7 separate regions of the Homo sapiens genome follow, and all the other regions are linked to region 5. Evidence: promoter capture Hi-C in human tissues and cell types (Jung and others, 2019). All regions are on one chromosome and are shown on one strand. The core of a region is centred on a gene start or on the middle of the fragment in contact, and the rest is flanking DNA. Distances in the headings are between cores, read along the strand shown.

Region 1 (2,700 bases), core at 18-2,517, 1.3 Mb before region 5:
TACAGTATGTAACTTGAAATTATTTCTGTCAGTCGAATTCACTGGACATTCTTCCAAGCAGTGTGTATTTCTTATTGTTTTTCCTTTTTTTCTTTTTTTGAAATGGAGTCTCGCTCTGTCACCAGGCTGGAGTGCAGTGGCGTGATCTCTGCTCACTGCAACCTCCACCTCCCAGGTTCAACCGATTCTCCTGCCTCAGCCTCCCGAGTAGCTGGGACTACAGACACGTGGCACCACCACATCCAGCTAATTTTTGTGTTTTTAGTGGAGACAGGGTTTCACCATGTTGGCCAGGATGGTCTCGATCTCTTGACCTCGTGCTGGTATTACAGGTATGAGCCACCACGCCCAGCCTGTTTTTCCTTTGTATTGTGGAGTAGTATTCCATAGTATGTATGTTCCTCAGTTTGTTTAACTACTTACCTGTTGAAGCACATCTAGGCTATTTCTAGATTGGGGCTATTATGAAGAAAGTTGCTATGAACATGTGTATACATTTTGTGGGAATGTCAGTTGTCATTTCTCTGGACTAAATGCCCAAGACTGAAATTTCTGGGTCATGTGGTATTTGCAAGGGCTTTTCTTTTTTTATTAAACATTTTTGTTTTAGATCATTATACCTTTAGATGCAACTGTAAAAAATAATATAGATAAATACCATGTACCCTTTATCCAGTCTCCCCCAAAAGTAAGATCTTAAACTATCTATCGTACAATATCACAACCAAGATTTTGACATTGATACAGTCAAGATACAGAACAGTTCCATCACCGAAAGAATCTCTCATGTTTCCCTTTTTGCTGTACTCACTGTCGTCTGGCCCACTCCTACCTTTATCCCTGGTAACCATTAACCTGTTCTCCATTTCTAAAAGTATGTATTTTAAAGAAAGTTGTTTAAATGGAATTATAAAATATAACTTCTGGAATTGGCTTTTTTCCTTCAGTCACCATAATTCTCTTAAGATTTATCCAGGCTGTTGTACACATGGGAAGTTAGCGATTTTTTCATTGCTGAGCAGTAATTCATGATATAGATGTAACAATTTGTTTAGCTATTCACCCACTGAGTGACATCTGAATTGTTTCCAGTTTTGGCTATTATGAATAAAGCATCTATAAATATTCATATACAGGTTTTTGTGTAAACATAGGTCTTCATTTCTCTGAATAAATGCCCATCTGGTAACCTTCATTCTACTCTCTACCTTCATGAATCCAATTGTTTTAACGTTTAGCTTCCACAAATGAGTGGAAAATGCTAAGTTTGTCTTTCTGTCCCTTGCTTATTTTACTTAACATAATGTTCTCCAGTTCTCTCCACGTTGTTGCAAATGATGGAAACTTGTCCTCCCTCCTCCCTCCTCCCTCCCTCCCTTCCTTCCTTCCTTTTTCTCTTTTTTGAGACAGAGTTTCGCACTATCATCCGGGCTGGAGTGCAGTGGCACAATCTCGGCTCACCGCAACCTCCGCCTCCCAGGTTTGAGCGATTCTCCTGCCTCAACCTCCTGAGTACCTGGGATTACAGGCGACCGCCACCACGCCTGGCTAATTTTTTATATTTTTAGTAGAGACGGGGTTTCACTATGTTGGCCAGGCTGATCTCAAACGCTTGACCTAGTGATCCACCCACCTTGGCCTCCCAAAGTGCTGGGATTACAGGCGTGAGCCACTGCGTCCAGCCAAGAATCTTGTTCTTTTTTATGGCTGACTAGTACTCTGTTGTGTATATGTACCATCTTTTTTTAATCCATTCATCTGTTGATGGACACTTAGGTTGATTCCAAATCCTGGCTATTGCAAATAGCGCATGTTGTGAGTGCAATTATCTCTTCAACATACGGATTTCATTTCCTTTAGATATCTACCCAGCAGTGGCATTGCTGAATCATCTGGTAGTTTTATTTTTAGTTTTCTGAGGAACCACCATACTGTTCTCTATAGTGGCTCTACTAATTTACATTTCTATCAAATGTGTATGACAGTTACTTTTTCTCCACATTCTTGCCAGCAATTGCCTCTTTTGGATAAAAGTCACTTTAACTGGAGTGAGATGATATCTCACGGTGGTTTTGAATTACATTTCTCTGCTGATAAATGATATTGAGCACCTTTTCATATACCTGTTGGCCATTTGTACGTCTTCATTTGAGAAAAGTCTATTCAGATCTTTTGTCCATTTTCTAATCAGATTATTAGATTTTTCCCTATTGAGTTGTTTGAGCTCCTTTTATATTCTGGATAGTAATCCCTTGTCAGCCAGATAGATTGCAAATATTTTCTCCTGTTCCGTGGGTTGTCTTTTTGTCGATTGTTTCCTTTGTTGTGCAGAAGCTTTTTAACTTGATATGATTCCACATGTCCATTTTTGCTTTGACTACCTGTGCTTATGGGTTGTTACTCAAGAAATCTTTGCCCAGACCAATGTCCTAGAGAGTTTCCCCAATGTTTTCCTTTAGTAGTTTCATAGCTTGAGGTCTTACATTTAAGCCTTCAATCCATTTTGATTTGATTTTTTTTACATATGTGAAGAGATAGGGCTCTAGCTTCATCCTTCTGCATATGGATATCCAGTTTTCCCACCACCACTTACTTAAGAGACTGTCTTTTCCCCCGTGTATTTTCTCGATACCTTTGTTGAGAAAGAGTTCACTGCAGATGTGTGAATTTGTTTCTGGGTTCTCTGTCCTGTTCCATTGA
Region 2 (2,700 bases), core at 131-2,630, 1.3 Mb before region 5:
CCAGAATATGAATTTCCTGAGAAATCCTAGGACATGGCACACTGTAAGTTCTCAATAGTAAATACTTGATGAAATAATGAATAATGAGGGAACGAAAAAAAATGGCCACTACGTCAGTTCTCAGGAATCGGTAATAAGTTTTTCCTTCACATCAAGGCATAAGAGGGAATGCATGCTCACTGTTCACAATGCTATTGCTTTTAAGCCTTCCAACACACTTCCATCTGGCCCTGATTTTCCATTTTTCCAATTTGGAACAACTTTTCCTATCCATTGGAATCACTTCCTTTCTTATGTTTACAAAACATATGATTTGGGGATTTTGCATAATTCATCCAAAACATAGACTAACTCAAACTGAGTCCAAATACCATCCACCAAGCAGCACGGAATACAGCATTGGATACATAAAAACATAATTTTGTATGCCTTTGAAAACCTAGTGAAGAAATTCAACCTAGCCATATTTTAATCACAATAATATTGCCCCTGTGGGCTTGTCTTGCATACACCATGCGTGTATTTATATTTCTACATAGACTTTATGGTGTTTTGGTTCATTACAGTCTGGTTGTTCAAGTTGAATGCAGAAAAATGAGATTTTCAGCATAGTTCTGACTTTCTATTTACATACCTTACTTAGTCCAGATGTAAACTTTTAGAACAGCTGCATCTTTTAGAAGCAAAGGATTTATTGATTGCTTGTAGGCATTCTGAATACTGGTGGGGTATTTTGGTTTCTTTTGGCAGGGTCAGAGTGAGGCAGGCTGAGTGAAAATCTAATTGTTTACAAAAGTAGGCCTGAGGTACAAATGTAGTAGACACCACAGAAGTTATTAACTGAAAAACTCTTATTTTAAGGTTGGTCAAGGAAAGAAGAAAGTGTTGATTTGGAATTTTTCTCTAGTGCTTTCCCACCTTCACTGCACAAGAAAACAATTGCATAGCATTGCGTGCAAGGTATTTTTCTAAGCACCCTACAGATATTGACTCATCTAATACTGTTAACACATTGATCAGCACATTTTACTTACAAAAAATCAAAAGCTCAGAAAAATAAAGACATTTTTCTAAAGTTATTGATATATATAAGTGGCACAAGTCATGTTTAAGACCTGACAGCCTGGGTGTGGAGTCAATGCTCTCAACAAACACGCCATGTTGCCTCCTACCTGGGCTCCTTGCCTCCATCTTACTCCTTCGTCTTTCAATCCATCCTTCGCCAATGTGACTGTCTATAGCACAGCTTCGTTCCATGTTATTCTTCAGCTCAAAACTCATTAGTGTCTCTTAGCTGTCCTCCCAAATCAAGTGATGCATCCCCATTCTGCTTTTCCAAGACTCTACAACTTCACCTCAATATGTCTTTTCTAACTAATATTCTAAATCTCTCCCTGCACAAATCTTATGTTCCAGCTAAGCTTAAACCCTACTTGCCATTCCCAAAACATGGTTTTGATTTTTCCATCTCAATGTTCTCGTCCATGTGGAAAGAAAAAACTTCCCCAATACCAGGGCTAGTATAAACCTCACCTGCCCAGCAATGTGCAAAAATCACTTGCTCCCTGTTATAGACTGAATTGTGTGGCCCCAAAGTTCATATGTCAAAATCCAACCCCCAATGTGACAGTATTTGGATTTAGATCTTTAAAGAGGTCTAAGGTTAAATGAGATCTGAAGGCTGGCTCCCTAATCTGATAGGACTGATGTCCTTATAAGAAGAAGAAGAGACACCAGAGCTCACTCTCTCTCTCTGTCGTTTTCTCACTGTCTCTCTCTCTCCACAGAGAAAAGACCACATGAGGACAAAGTGAGGAGGAGGCAGTTGTCAAGTCAGGAAGAGAGGCCCCATCAGAAACCAACCCTGTTAGCATCATAATTTCAGTCTCCAAAATAGTGAGAAAAAAAATGTCTGTTAAGACACCCAATCTGTGGCATTTTGTTGTGGCAGCTCGAGCTAACTAATACACTCTCCCTCACTCCTTAGAATAGGGATTCTCAACCTTGTGTTCAATGACTGTGAAGCCTATAAATTTTGGTGATGCACTAATAAGGGCCTAAAAATATTTTAAAAAACTGAAAAAAGTCACGATTAATAACAACACATCTCTTTTGAGGAAGAACTGTATCTCTGAATGTTTAAAAATCATCCACCATTTTGCACTTTTTCTGGATCACTGTTCAACATGAAGTTATTATTTTTTTCACTGTAGATATGTCAACTGATTTGTTAATGCTTTCTTAGATACTCAAAAGACAACATTCTCTTATACCCTAGAGAATATTCCAGAAAGCAGGCACATGCTTGATTATTCCATGTCTCTTTCCTCTCAGTGTCAGCAAGTTACTCCTTGTTTTTCCCCTTATTTCAGAGGACATGTCAACCATTAGAGTGAATACACTATCATACCACACACAATTCGCTTCAGTATACTGCTCACATTTTATCAGCACCCTTGAGAAGATACATCCACAAGCCAGTTGAGAATTATTAAGGAGGGAGACAAGATGGCTGATTAGAAGCAGTTAACTTGCATGGCACTCAGGGAGAGGAACAAAGGGAGCAAGTAAATACAGCACCTTCAACTGAAATATCCAGGGACTCGCATTGGGACTGATCAGGGAAGCAATTCAATGCAGAGAAAATGGAGAAAAGCAGGGCAGGGCAGTGGCCCACCCAGGAGCAACACGGAGCCAAGG
Region 3 (2,700 bases), core at 126-2,625, 1.4 Mb before region 5:
TTACAAGAAGTTATGAAAGTGCTATGCAGGCCAAGAAGTTACAAACCTGTTATGTAAATTATATGAGGGAAGAGGGAGGGAGGAATGTTTGCTTAGAGATAAGCCCAGTACACTTCCAATGAACAGATCTGAGAACAAAGCCCTTAGTTATAGATGGACTGGACAGGGCTTGGCAGAAATTCTAGTCTTATAGCAAAAGACTACAGCAAGTGATGTGGAGGAGGAAAAGGGAAGGATGGCAGTGACTGTTTTAAACATAGGGCTGGGAGACAGGATAGTAAAGGCAGGCTATCCAGACGAGTGATTCCACACCCATCGGACCTAGAACTTGGGCCCCAACACAAGCCAGGCTCAAAAATGCTGGTCTGAAACAAAACAGAGTAAAATATTTTCCACCTTTACTCTTTCATTGTGCCAAATGGGCTAGAAGTCATAGCATAACTCACCTTTCTCTGAGAAGAGGTCAAAAGAAAATGCCTGGCCAAAGGGAATCCATGTCCCAGCACACATCCCTAAAGGTACTCACGTCTGTTAACTCTCGAATGAATTTTCTGATGTCAGTGTTTCTTGAAATGCATCTGTTCTCTAGTAGAGGTAACATTACTTATATTGCACTGAACAGTTTTTCTTTTTTTCAATTATCTTTTCTTTTTATTTCTTTGACTTCTGCAGAAGTTCAATTCTTGCTTGTTTTCAGTTTTTGAGCTTTCACTCCATTTGGGAGTTCAGCCAATCAGTTGCTGAACCAGACAACTTATTATAACTTCCTCCGTTGGAGCCTGAAATATGTCTTTACTTTTGATTTACATACAACATTGTGGGTGATATATCAAGATTATTCACTACAACTCAAAGACACAAATGTTTCGAGAATTAATTACGTCAACGCTTTCAGAAGATAATGGGTAAGAAGCAATTCAGATAAAAATTGATTCATTTCATGCAATCAATACCTTTATCACAAAATAGACCAGCATATTAGAGAAAGCTTTGGAGTCAGAAGGACTTGAGCTTGAATCTGGGCTCTGCAACTTACCAGCTACCTGAGTTTGAGTGGCAATTTAAACCCCTCAGCCTCAGTTTTCTCAAATGTCAAGTAGATCCACACATCTTACAGGACAGTATAAGAATTAGATGAGGCTGGGCACGGTGGCTTACGCCTGTAATCCCAGCACTTTGGGAGGCCGAGGCAGGTGGATCACGAGGTCAGGAGTTTGAGACCAGCCTGACCAATATGGTGAAACCTGGTGTCTACTAAAAATACAAAAAAAAAAAATAAAAATCAGCTGAGCGTGGTGGCGGGGTCTGTAATCCCAGGTACTCAGGATGCTGAGGCAGAAGAATCGCTTGAACCCAGGAGGCAGAGGTTGCAGTGAGCCAATACCGTGTCACTGCACTCCAGCCTGGGTGACAGAGTGAGACTCCATCTCAAAAAAAACAAAAAACAAACAAAAAAAAGTTAGATGAACTTGGCCGGGGTGGCTCATGCCTGTAATCCCAGCACTTTGGGAGGCTGAGATAGGAGGCTCGCTGGAGCCCAGTGGTTTGAGACCAGCCTGGGCAACATGGCAAAACCCCGTCTCTACCAAAAGTACAAAAAATTAGCCAAGTGTGGTGGTGCGAATCTGTGATCCCAGCTACTCAGGAGGCTGAGGTGAGAGGATCACTTGGGCCTGAGAGGCAAGTGTTGCAGTGAGCCGAAATGGTGCCACTGTGATCCAGGCTGGGTGACAGTGAGACTCCATCTCAAAAAAAAAAAAAAAAAAAAACACTTTAGATGAACAAATGAATCTAAAGGCCTAGAAAATATGATAGGATTTCAAAACAGTTTGAAGTCTAATAATTGACTGAATCTATGCTAGAGGAATCTGAACAATTGTGAGCAGAATATATGAAATCTAGCGATAGTGGGGAATTCCTGAAGAAGTAGGCATCAGGAAATCCAGGTTCAAGTATAATCCATTAATCCATTTCTTCTCTAGCTATCTTTTTTTTTTTCATATGTACTAGGAGAATACTGAACTACTTGCCCCCATCTCAATTTTCTCTCTAATTATGCTGGTCTAGGAATCTACTCAGGTCTGGTGTGGAGCCCTCATTCTAATACAAGATGGAGCTCTTACAGGTCATTTATAAAACAGGTCAAATACCAAATCAATAAGACTAAAAGAGCCGGAATATATTTATTTTTATCATTTTTATCCTACTGTAAGTCAAAAGGTGCTAGTTCATGGTTAAATGTTTGCAGAAAATTGCGTCTTTAAGAGCACCAAGGGTAGGAAATCAGAAAAAACAAGTTACTAGGTTTTTTGTTTTGTTTTGTTTTAATTCAACAAGGAAAAAAACATCGAATGGTAGGGACTTTCTGTCTGGTTTCATTAGCTGTTCCCTCCCAGCAATGAGATCAGCACTTCAGAGAGGACCAGCCTTCGTACCCTGGGCAAATTTCCAGCTAGACATGGTCAATCCAAGAAAAATTCCCCTCTCACCCTCACCAATCACAACATTTCGGGTCATCATTGACTTTTCTCCAGTTTATGAAATAACCCAGTCATAGCTTTCTGGATTTTTTACATAGTGAAAACTTCCATTTAGTGTTTATCTCACATAGAACAAAGATTTTATCTTTGTCTATTGACTATACAACTACAAAGATAAATTTTTAAAAAATAACTTGCTGCCTAAAGCTTAGAGCCTAGT
Region 4 (2,700 bases), core at 177-2,676, 1.3 Mb before region 5:
CGAAAGACTGCCTGCTATGTGTTCCTATTTATATGAAACTCTAGAAAAGATAAATCTAATCCATAGTGGCAGAAAGCATATCAATGACTAACGGGGTATTGGAAAGAGGTGGAGGGTGTGGAGAGCATTGTATAGGAAATGACACAGGCTATTACTATGTGATGGAAATGTCCTATATCTCAATTGTGGTGGTAATTAAGTGGTTGTATATATTTGTCACGATTCATCAAAATATATACTTAAAATGGGTACATGATATTATATACAAATGATATTTCAATAAAGTTGATTTCAAAATGCATCTGTCACATATACAAAGTAACTGCTAGAACAATAAAACTCAAATGCACTGTTTACAAACCACTGGAAGAAGAAAGGGGGTGGAGAGAACAAATACAAGTGGAAAGAAAAAAGCCACATAATGATAGTTGACATTTATTTCATACACACTCTTTCTCAGGCAAAGTTTTAAATATTTTACATGTAATCATTTCCTTAATCCCTACAATAAGTCAATGAATTGAGCATAATTATAATCATTCTCATTTAATTTATGAAGAAACTGAGGCATAGAAAATATATGTAATTTAAGCAAGGTCAAATATCTACTATGGTAGAACTGGGTTTCCCAGTCAGAGCAAATAACATTCTTTTACACTGCTTCTTGTCATTAAGTTAAAAACATAAATGCATGAAACAATTGCAAAACGTCATTAATCAAAGCAAAGACTTTGGAATAAATTTCCCTATTATAAGTCAGAGACAAAGATTTGTTAAAGAAAAGAATAAAGCTTAGCAATAAGTTATTATAAAAGATATACCTAAAACAGAAAGATCCAGAAAAGATAAAAATGAAAACATTAAAGAGATACATAGGGTAAATGTTGAAAATAGTAGATATATTAACGTTAATATAAAAGGCAGAACTCAAGGGGAAAAGTTTTTTAAATATCAAAGAATTGTTTAAATTGATAAAAGGTATGATTAAGAGAATAAAGCTGTCATTAACCTTCTATATACCTAATTAAAATGGATGCAAAATATCTAAATAAAAAACTATGATAAAGCAAAAACAATGAAATATCTTAATATATCTTTCTCAATAATCGTCATCCTAAGTAGATCAAAAGCAAATACAGATCTGAATAATTTAATTAACAATATATATTTTTTCCACTTTGCATATCTATAAACACTGACCTATTATCAGCCTGCTATGAAGCAAAAATTACGTATAGATCAGAGATTCTGATCTTAAAGCAGTACAGTTAGAAATTAACGACAAACATTATCCATCCTCTCCAAAAAATGACAATCCACCTGAAAATATTGAAACATTTTAAATAATAATTGTGGTCAAAATCCATTTAGAAATAAATGACAATAAGAATACTATGCGTCAAAATTTGGGGGATGTAGCTTTGTATTAAAGTAATATTCAGAAGAATCCGTATGTTCTTAAATGCATTTACTATCAAACAGGAAATACTGAAAATAAATTAAATATGAATTCAATTTAAAATACTATATAAAATAACAATGAAATAAATCCAATGGCTATTGAAAAGTAATACATAGAAAATAAGTATTAATAAAATAATAGATTTTAGGATTAATCAATTACCCCAATAGCTGCTTCCTTGAAAAGACTAATTATATAGATAAACTCCTGGAAAAATCTCATAAAAAAAAGAAGACAAACAAAATAAAAAATATTATTATCAGTTGCTATGGTTTAAATGTTTGTCCCCTCCAAAACTCATGTTGAAACTTATTTCCCAATGGGGCAGTATTGAAAGGTGGGACCTTTAAAAGGTGATTTGATTATCAAGGATTAGTCCATTCATGAATTGATGAAATAATAGGTTAATGGGTTAGTGCATTATCATGATAATGGGACTGGTGGCTTTATAAGAAGAGGAAGAGAGACATGAACTAGCTTGCTCAGCCTCCCCACCATGTGATGCTCTGTATAGCCTTGGGACTCTGCAGAGTCCCCACCAGCAAGGAGGGCCTCACCAGATGTGGTTCCTTGACATTGGACTTCTCAGCCTCCATAGCTGTAAGAAATAAATTTCTTATCAATAACCCAGTTCCAGATATTTCATGATAAGCAGTGGAAAATAGACTAAAATACCAATATGGAACAGATTTTGAAAATGTTAAGAGAGAATATTGTTTATAAGTTATGCCAGTAAATTTGAAAATCTAGACAAATTGGATAATATGTCTTAGTTTTAGTAAAGATACAAAATAGACTACAGAAGAATCTTGAAAAACCAGAATAGCCAGTAGTCAGAAGAGAAGATTGAAAAAATAATCAGAGTATTTCTGTTAAAGGAATCCCATGTGATTCTACAGATGAATTCTATTAAATTTTTAAGAAAACATTCCACAGTGTTTTTTGATGGACAGCTTCCCATTTGATTCTGTAACAGTAGAAAATCCTGATATCAAACTATAGACTGTTAGTCCTGTAATCATTCAATTGGACTTAAGAACACAGATGAAAAAAATCCTAAAACAAATGCCTTAGTTGTGCCTTTTGTAAAAAGGTATTAATAGACAGATGATACATAGATAGATAGATAGATAGATAGATAGATAGATAGATAGATAGATATCAATAGATACACATATATCTGACAGAGAGGGAGAGAAACAGAGGAAGAGCATTAGGGCTTGGAGTGACTTCATTGG
Region 5 (2,700 bases), core at 110-2,609:
AATACAGGCAGTATCTGTGATACTGGCACGGCAGGCCTTTAGAATTCCCTCCGGCTGATCTCTTAAACACAGACTGAAGAGATTTTTTTACAACGACCTTGAAACGAGCCTCGAAAACAAAAATCTCAAGACCTTAAGAGAAAACAAAACACAAACAGGTATTTGGCTCACAGAATTTTGTAGAAAACACACACATACCACCCCGCCACCCCCACCCTCCCCCCCACACACACGTTTCTTGCAACAAGAAATTTCCCAAGAGTCAACAATAACAGATTAAACCCACCACTTGCTGTCCTGGAAAGAAACAAACCAAACCAAAACAAATCCTTTGAACATTTCTCTGAAGTGCAGGAGAGACACACTTCAGCAAAAGTCCAAGGGGGAAAAAGAAAATTGCACCAAAGGAAAAAAAAAAAAAAAAAGTGGGGGCTGGGATTGTTACATATGGCCAAAAATTTAAGCTTCTTTCAATAGTATTAGTATTGAAATAATACATCTTTAAAACGCTTGAGGGATTAGATAGGGAAAGAAAAGGCACGTACAAAAAAATCCAACCGATGCCGATCCTGTGATTTACGTAACACCACAAACTTGCAAAAGGCAAAAAATCAGAAGCAAAAATCCATAAACCATCAAAATACAGAAACCAAAAATCCCAAGCCACCACACCAGAAAGAAAAAAACCCAGAACAACAGCAAAAACCCCTGTCCTAAATAAAAATAAAGCAAATGAACCCACCGAAAACTGCTTGGCAAATATTTTTCTCGTGGTGCCTAATATTCTAGTTGGAAAGAGCTGTGATGTTTATTTTATTTTATTTTTCTCTTACTCGCCTCTCTAACCCTACTATATATATAACATACTTTTCCCAGTGGTTCAAACCTCTCGCTCCCTTTTGTGCATTTAGCTCGATCTGCTGAGTTTATGGGTAAGAAAGAAGGAATTAGCCCCAGACCCCGGGAAAGCAAAGCGCACTCCCCCTCTTATGTCACCGAATAGCAAATTAGTTCTCAGAATTCCAGAGGCCGAGCTTTGCTACAGCGAAGGCGCCGACGTCACAGAGGAGGAGCCCACGTGATGGTGGCGGAGCAGGCCATACCATCGTCTTGGGCCCGGGGAGGGAGAGCCACCTTCAGGCCCCTCGAGCCTCGAACCGGAACCTCCAAATCCGAGACGCTCTGCTTATGAGGACCTCGAAATATGCCGGCCAGTGAAAAAATCTTGTGGCTTTGAGGGCTTTTGGTTGGCCAGGGGCAGTAAAAATCTCGGAGAGCTGACACCAAGTCCTCCCCTGCCACGTAGCAGTGGTAAAGTCCGAAGCTCAAATTCCGAGAATTGAGCTCTGTTGATTCTTAGAACTGGGGTTCTTAGAAGTGGTGATGCAAGAAGTTTCTAGGAAAGGCCGGACACCAGGTGATTATTGCTGTTGCTGCCGCCGCTGCTGCTGCTACTGCCGCCGCCGCCGCTGTTGCCGCTGGTGCCGCTGCCGCCGCCGCTGCTCATGATCATTATTTTACCTTTTAATTCTTTTTTTTTCCGCTCTTGCCAAATGCTTTGGCTCCAAGTTTTCTATGTGTATCTATTGATATAAATGTATATATTTATTTATTCTAGCTGTCAGGTGTTAAAATAAATGCCGAAGATTAGTCCCACGTCTCTCCCACCATAGGATATAGATTGTTATGTATTTATTATTATTATTGTTGTCTTTGAGTGAATCGGCCGGTTTGGGGAGGCTTTTGCCACCCTCCCTTGTGTTGTTTTGGTTTTTGGAAAGGAGGTGGAGGAGAGGAAGGAGGGGAATTAGGGGGCGGCCGGAGCAGAGAGGACGAGACAGTGCTTGGGGGGTGATTCGGGCTAGTCTGGGGGCTGTCTGGCCCCAGACCGCGGAGAGGACGCGCGCTCGCGCTCTCGCTCTTTCTGCTGCTGCTTGCGTACGGCTTGTGATCTCTCTGGATTCGTGCGGCTGTGTTTTTTCCCTCTTTTCTCGCTTGCAAACTGCTTTCCTTGCTCCGTCGCTCCTGGCCTCCGCTTCCCTCCCTCCTCTTTTTCCTCGCCTCTTCTTCCTTCCCTTCCCCTGTCCTTCTGGGTAACTCCGGGAGGCAAAAAGGGAGGCTGCCCGCTCGCTCGCCCCGCTGGCTCTCTTCCATCGGCCTCGGTCTTTTAGATTCCCTGCCTTCGAGCCGAACCGAGATTTGGAAGGAAAAAATGCAAGCGAACTCTTTGGGTTTTTGTTTTTGTTTTTTTGGTCATAAATCCAGATGAGATGAAGTATCGTGTCTACTATTTCCTTTCAGAGCCGTGATCTTCCTAATGAGAGCCGAGTGTTTTGGTGTTCCCTGCCCCTGTGTTTTGGGGAGCTTGGGGGCGGGGATGTTGAACACTTTGAAAATTATTCTTTCTTGGTTGTAGTCGAGGGAGTCGGGAACCTCCGCGCGCTCTCCCTGCTCATCCCGAGGAGAGAGACTGATGGCGGGACAGGGCTTCTTGGGGTGGGTGGGAAAGGGGTGCGCACTGCACCTGCGATGCCTTTCAGTGTGCGGGGGGACTCAGGGAACCTCGACAGGACAGCCTGGGAGAACGAGAAAGGTGGCGGGATTTCTGGCCGCTGCGGTGTTTGTATTTTGGGCGCTGCGTGACTCTGTGTTGGCTCCCAATGGCTGTTGCCTCCCTTTCCTAAATTTTATTTTATTTTT
Region 6 (2,700 bases), core at 115-2,614, 1.5 Mb before region 5:
TTGCTCTGTGTTCATAATTAGATTGTCTAGACAGGAGATGTTGCTGGAGCAATAGGAAAATATTTTACAAGATGTTCCGCAGAACCACACTTATAACAGTGATTAGGACACACTGACAGACGCGAAGCCAGCAGAATTGGCCCGGGCCACGAGCCGGTTTCACCCAGAGCAGAAGCCCTTTCAAGCTCTCATTTCAGGAAGAGGTGCCAAATTAGAGCTCTGAGGGCATGGAGCAGCAACTTCTTGGCCTTTGGATCCGAGAAAGCAAGGTTGAGATAATAGAATGATGTCTGCGATGCCCTCCTTCCTCCCTCCACCTGCTGACACTAAGTCAACAGGAGGCAGATGGTAGTTGCTGCTTTCACCAGCATCTCTCCAAAAGGATGTGTAAAGGCCAAAGAAAGCAGTTTCCTGGACCTGGCTTCTGCAGCATGGCCTATCCCTTCTATGTTGCAGAATGCAAATTTAAATAGCATGGAGAGATACATGTGCGATGCCTTCTCTTGCAGGGAGATATTTCTTGGCCTGACCTCCCTGCTTAGCTTTTGTTGGCATATCAATGTGACAGCAACAATATTTTCCAGCAGAAAACCTCTTTAGAGATATTTTTTCACAGGAGGAATTGATAAGGTAAAATCATTTAGCCCTCTAAGATGAATGGCTTTTGGAAAATTGCTACACTAATATAGTACTACAAGGGTATAGGATTCAATACAAAGAAAAATTAGAGATTTTAGAAATTTAGCAAGAGGAGATTCAGCAAGGGGAGGGGACTTATATCAGGAAAATGTATCAGGACCCAGGTCCCTGAATCCTAAACCAAGGTCTTTCTACCAAAACTATTAAAGATGCTTGCGTAATTCAAATGCTTACTATATACCAAATGTTCTTCTAAGCATTTTACCCATATTATCTCATGGAACCCTCAACACAGACCAATAAGAGAGATACTATTATCCAACCCTCCCCTCCTCCCTCCAGTTTACAAATGGGAAGACCGACGCATGGATTGTTAAGTAACTTGCTCCAGGTCACCCAGAGGGAAATCTGGATTGACTCCCTGTCAGCCCGACTTCAGAACAAGGTCTTTAAGCCTTAAACTGTCTATATTCTATCTCCTCATTAGAGTTCAGATGAGAATATGGGGAAAGAAATGGGGCTTAGTGACCATCAAAAATTACAATGCATTTGAGAACAAGTAAGAATTAGGCACATGACAAAGGCAGAGGAGGAGGTGAAATCAGAGAATTTCATGTTTCAGATGCTACCATCATCTGTTTCCACGATTGCATACAAGTCACTCAACCACTCAGAATTGCAGTTCCTTCACTGTTGTTTCTTATGGGCATAAAAAACAAATAGGCCAGACATGGTGGTTTGCACCTATAATCCCAGCAGTCTGGGAGGCCCAGGCGGGTGGATCACTTGAGATCAGGAGTTTGAGACCAGCCTGGCCAACGTGCTGAAACCCCGTCTCTACCAAAAATACAAAAAATTATCAGGGTGTGGTGGCAGACACCTGTAATCCCAGCTACTTGGGAGGCTGAGGCAGGAGAGTCACTTGAACCCAGGAGGTGGGGGTTGGTTGCAGTGAGCCGAGATCACACTACTGCATTCCAGCCTGGGCAACAGAGCAAGACTTCGTAAAAAAAAAAAAAAAAAAAAAAAGGGATTCCTGGGCAAGATGGCTGAACAGGAATAGCTCCAGCCTGCAGCTCCCAGCAAGATCAACACAGAAGGGGTGATTTCTGCATTTCCAACTGAGGTACCCAGTTCATCTCATTGGGACTGATTAGACAGTGGGTACAGCCCACAGAGGGCAAGCAGAAGCAGGGTGGGGTGTCGCCTCACCTGGGAAGCCCAAGGGGTCAGGGAACTCCCTCCCCTAGCCAAGGGAAGCCATGAAGGACTGTGCCATGAGGGATGGTGCATTCTGGCCTAGACACTACGCTTTCCCCACGATCTTCACAACCCACAGACCAGGAGATTCTCTCAGGTGCCTACACCACCAGAGCCCTGGGTTTCAAGCACAAAACTGGGAGGCCATCTGGGCAGACACCAAGCTAGCTGCAGGAGTTTTTTTCATACCCCATTGGTCCCTGGAACACAGCAAGACAGAACTGTTCACTCTAGAAAGAGGGCTGAAGCCAGGGAGCCAAGTGGTCTTCCTCAGTGGATCCCACCCGCATGGAGCCCAGCAAGCTAAGATCCACTGGCTTGAAATTCTCGCTGCCAACACAGCAGTCTGAAGTCGACCTGGGACACTGAGCTTGGTTGGGGGAGGGGCGTCCACCATTACTAAGGCTTGAGTAGGCAGTTTTCCCCTCACAGTGTAAACAAAGCCACTGGGAAGTTCGGACTGGATGGAGCCCACTGCAGCGCCGCAAAACTGCTGTAGCCAGACTGCCTCTCTAGATTCCTCCTCTCTGGGCAGGGCATCTCCGAAAGAAAGGCAGCAGCCCCAATCAGGGGCTTATAGATAAATCTTTCATCTGCCTGGGACAGAGCACCTGGGGGAAGGGGCGGCTGTGGGCACAGTTTCAGCAGACTTGAACATTCCTGCCTGCCAGCTCTGACGAGAGCAGCATATCTCCCAGCACAGTGCTTGAGCTCTGCCAAGGGACACACTGCCTCCTCAAGTCAGTCCCTGACCCCCATGCCTCCTGATGGGGAGACACGTCCAGCAGGGGTCAACAGACA
Region 7 (2,700 bases), core at 55-2,554, 1.4 Mb before region 5:
TACCCAATATATGGTCGAATTAAATTGAAAATGACCCTGATCTTTAAAAACCTCAGTAAGATGAAACTATTACCATTGGATTATTTTTTTCTTCCTACCTAAAGTTCTTCTCCTAACAGCTTGAGGCATTTTACATGTCTCATCAGGGAAGAAATTAAAGAAGGAAGAAGAACCTTGACAAAATTTAAACACACAAACGAAGAGCTAGTGATAAATTACAATGCAAATAAGATAGGCTTTTGAAACGCTGAGACACCAAGGAAAGTATCAGGGATACTAGTTAGGATAAAAGGTATTATGCATTTCTCTGTAGGCATGGAGAGTTACTTCCCTAGTTGACTAACTCCCTGGGTGTGCTCGGTCAAGTATACCCTTATGCAAGTTTCCCTCGGTATCCTTTGGCTTCCTTGTCAGCAAATTAAAGCAGTTTGGACGTGCTCAAAGTGAGGTCTCTTCTAGGTTGTCATTCTATGCTACTAAGTATCAAACTGTTATCACCTCCATGTCAGTGTCCCCACTTAAGGATTGATTTTTAAAGTAAGATTACACTCTAGAACCTAAGTTGGCATGGCAACGTAATGAAAACAACAAAACAGTTCAATTCAAAAACTTGAGTTTGGACCATAGGAGTTGAACCAGAGAGGAAGATCCTATGGCACTCATCTATCAACACAGTCCCTTGAATTCCCATTTGAAGACACTGAATGCTCTGTTCTCTTGGAATGTCTGAAGTTTAAAGGGAAATGGTGGCCTCTAAGGCCAAGGCCATGTTATTGAGGGTCTGGAATGCTTAGCCAAGAAGTTTATGTTTAATTTTCATCTTTATTATGTTGTTGGGGACTCTACTCAGTGATTCTGTCTTGACATTTGATGATTTCTTTTGAACTGCGACTGCTCTCTGGGTTTCCAGAGAGCCCAAATCACCTGGGGAGAGGGAGGGAATCTTCCTTTTGTCTGTCTTAGTCCCTGACCAGTTACAGCCCTGCCTCTGTTCCTGTAGCCTAAGAGATTTTCCATATTGGCAACACTCAATGGCCACCTGAATCACACGGTGAGCAGTTTCCACCTCTTGGCAGTAATTTTGGATTCTTTCCCCCTTTCTGCATCTTTGGGGTCCACAGGGGAAAAACTTACTCCACTGTCACACAAATAATAGTCCCACCCCCAGTGCAGTGAGCAGCCTGAATCAAAGACAGGCCCAGAGTCCAGGGCTTATGACTCCAGTATCAGCCTGGATCTTCATGCCAGGGCAGCCTTTAGTGTCCAGAAAGAGCCTCTCACCCCGAAGACAGCATTTGATGCGCAGGTCCCTGGACACCTGCCTGAGAACCTCATATTAAAAATGCACATGCCCAGGCCCCTTGATTTACTGGATTAGAATCTCTGGGGGTAGGCCTAGAAATCTCCATGTCAACAAGCCTTGCCAGATGGCTGTTATGCACATAAAAGTTTGAGAACCAGAGTGTTACAGTTTCTCCATCTATCGTGACAGTCATTTAGAAAACTCCAACCCAGAATAGACTGTACAAAAGCTCAGGGGCAAGAACCTGTAGGGTGAATCAGTCTTGCTGTAAGGAAACAGCAGTAAAACCTGTGTGTCTGGAACACTGGGCGGCAGGCAAAGTTGAGGGTGTGGTAAGGTTAGAAGGCAAGTAATCTGTACATGAATGACCCACGATTCTTTCATTTTTACATTGCTCCTCACTGTATGATATAAACGTTCCTAGGTAAACTCAAAGTTTCATTACCCTCCATCCCAAATCCTCATAGCTGGATATCTGTACTCTTGCTGACTTACTACACATGAAAGAGGTTCTTGCTTAACAACAGTAATAAGGGTAAAAATGCACAGAGATGGGGGCTGGAGCTAGCTACATTGTACAAAGGCCCAGAAAAGAGAAATCGTGGAGGTTTTTGTGAAGGAAAGGAGTTCAGCAAAGCCCATCCCCATTTCCAGGGATACTCTGCCACATGAAGGCTGAGGACAAGCTCCAGCTCCTCAGAGTTTTCTTAAAGCACGTTTGGGACCCCAGGGGGACATGGGAGCTGTGGAGGGAACCTGCCACACAACATGCCATATCCGTTTTCAGAGGATGTCAACACCCTCCTTCCCACACCTGCTGTTCCCAAATATCACAACCTGATTTTTTTCTCCAACCTCCTGTCTTGATGATGATGATTAAATATTCATGGAATGCTGTGATGCCAGCATACTTTGTGAAATTTCAGATACCTTTTTTTTTTAAAAAAAAGGGAAGCTTTTATTTTTTTTTTTAGCTTATTTCAATTTTCAAAAGAGGTAAAAAGAATAACAAATGCAATGACTAGAAAAGTAGATAATGAACAAAGAAGCTAGTATCCTAGGTTTTCACAACTGTGTTTCGAGCCAAAAATTGTCCCAATTTAAGAAAAAAAGTAGGGGCCAGGCTTGGTGGCTCACGCCTGTAATCCCAGTACTTTGGGAGGCCGAGGCGGGTGGATCACCTAAGATCAGGAGTTCAAGACTACCCAGGCCAACATGGTGAAACCCCGTCTCTACAAAAATACAAAAATTAGCCAGGCATGATGGTGGGCACCTGTAGTCCCAGCTGCTCAGGAGGCTAAGGCAGGAGAATCGCTTGAACCTGTAAGGTGGATGTTGCAGTGAGTGGAGATCGCACCACTGCACTCCAGCCTGGGTGACAGAGTGAGACTCTGTCT

What was found. Contacts are between HindIII fragments. The study calls those that stand out against the background at their distance.
Region 1: a fragment that was not itself captured here is called in contact with the fragment with the promoter of BCL6 in region 5 in 1 of the 25 tissues and cell types used here (liver).
Region 2: a contact is called between a fragment that was not itself captured here and the fragment with the promoter of BCL6 in region 5, in 1 of the 25 tissues and cell types used here (liver).
Region 3: a contact is called between a fragment that was not itself captured here and the fragment with the promoter of BCL6 in region 5, in 1 of the 25 tissues and cell types used here (heart right ventricle).
Region 4: a fragment that was not itself captured here is called in contact with the fragment with the promoter of BCL6 in region 5 in 1 of the 25 tissues and cell types used here (lymphoblastoid cells).
Region 6: a fragment that was not itself captured here is called in contact with the fragment with the promoter of BCL6 in region 5 in 1 of the 25 tissues and cell types used here (thymus).
Region 7: a fragment that was not itself captured here is called in contact with the fragment with the promoter of BCL6 in region 5 in 1 of the 25 tissues and cell types used here (heart right ventricle).

Annotation. Positions count from the first base shown.
Region 1 is chr3:189,067,479-189,070,178 of GRCh38, reverse strand. All of the region lies in intron 4 of LOC107986167 (a long non-coding RNA gene), which reads left to right. It also overlaps a transcript of TPRG1 not described here. Among named protein-coding and RNA genes, the nearest start is that of TPRG1, 100 kb to the left of the region's middle. The HindIII fragment of the contact is 9,097 bases long and covers 1-2,700 here.
Region 2 is chr3:189,025,333-189,028,032 of GRCh38, reverse strand. It overlaps a transcript of TPRG1 not described here. Among named protein-coding and RNA genes, the nearest start is that of TPRG1-AS1, 79 kb to the right of the region's middle. The HindIII fragment of the contact is 3,207 bases long and covers 1-2,700 here.
Region 3 is chr3:189,186,055-189,188,754 of GRCh38, reverse strand. The region is part of intron 1 of TPRG1 (tumor protein p63 regulated 1); the gene reads right to left. Among named protein-coding and RNA genes, the nearest start is that of TPRG1, 15 kb to the right of the region's middle. The HindIII fragment of the contact is 6,477 bases long and covers 1-2,700 here.
Region 4 is chr3:189,088,892-189,091,591 of GRCh38, reverse strand. All of the region lies in intron 2 of LOC107986167 (a long non-coding RNA gene), which reads left to right. It also overlaps a transcript of TPRG1 not described here. Among named protein-coding and RNA genes, the nearest start is that of TPRG1, 82 kb to the left of the region's middle. The HindIII fragment of the contact is 4,895 bases long and covers 1-2,700 here.
Region 5 is chr3:187,744,127-187,746,826 of GRCh38, reverse strand. BCL6 (BCL6 transcription repressor) reads left to right here and starts at 1,359. Exons shown (of 10, transcript NM_001706.5): 1 at 1,359-1,417. BCL6-AS1 (BCL6 antisense RNA 1) reads right to left here. Exons shown (of 2, transcript NR_173091.1): 2 at 801-1,583. RefSeq lists an enhancer at 1,721-2,246. The HindIII fragment of the contact is 4,851 bases long and covers 8-2,700 here.
Region 6 is chr3:189,258,431-189,261,130 of GRCh38, reverse strand. The region is part of intron 4 of TPRG1 (tumor protein p63 regulated 1); the gene reads right to left. Among named protein-coding and RNA genes, the nearest start is that of TPRG1-AS2, 19 kb to the right of the region's middle. The HindIII fragment of the contact is 8,541 bases long and covers 1-2,700 here.
Region 7 is chr3:189,164,182-189,166,881 of GRCh38, reverse strand. It overlaps a transcript of TPRG1 not described here. Among named protein-coding and RNA genes, the nearest start is that of TPRG1, 6.4 kb to the left of the region's middle. RefSeq lists an enhancer at 1-404. The HindIII fragment of the contact is 5,166 bases long and covers 1-2,700 here.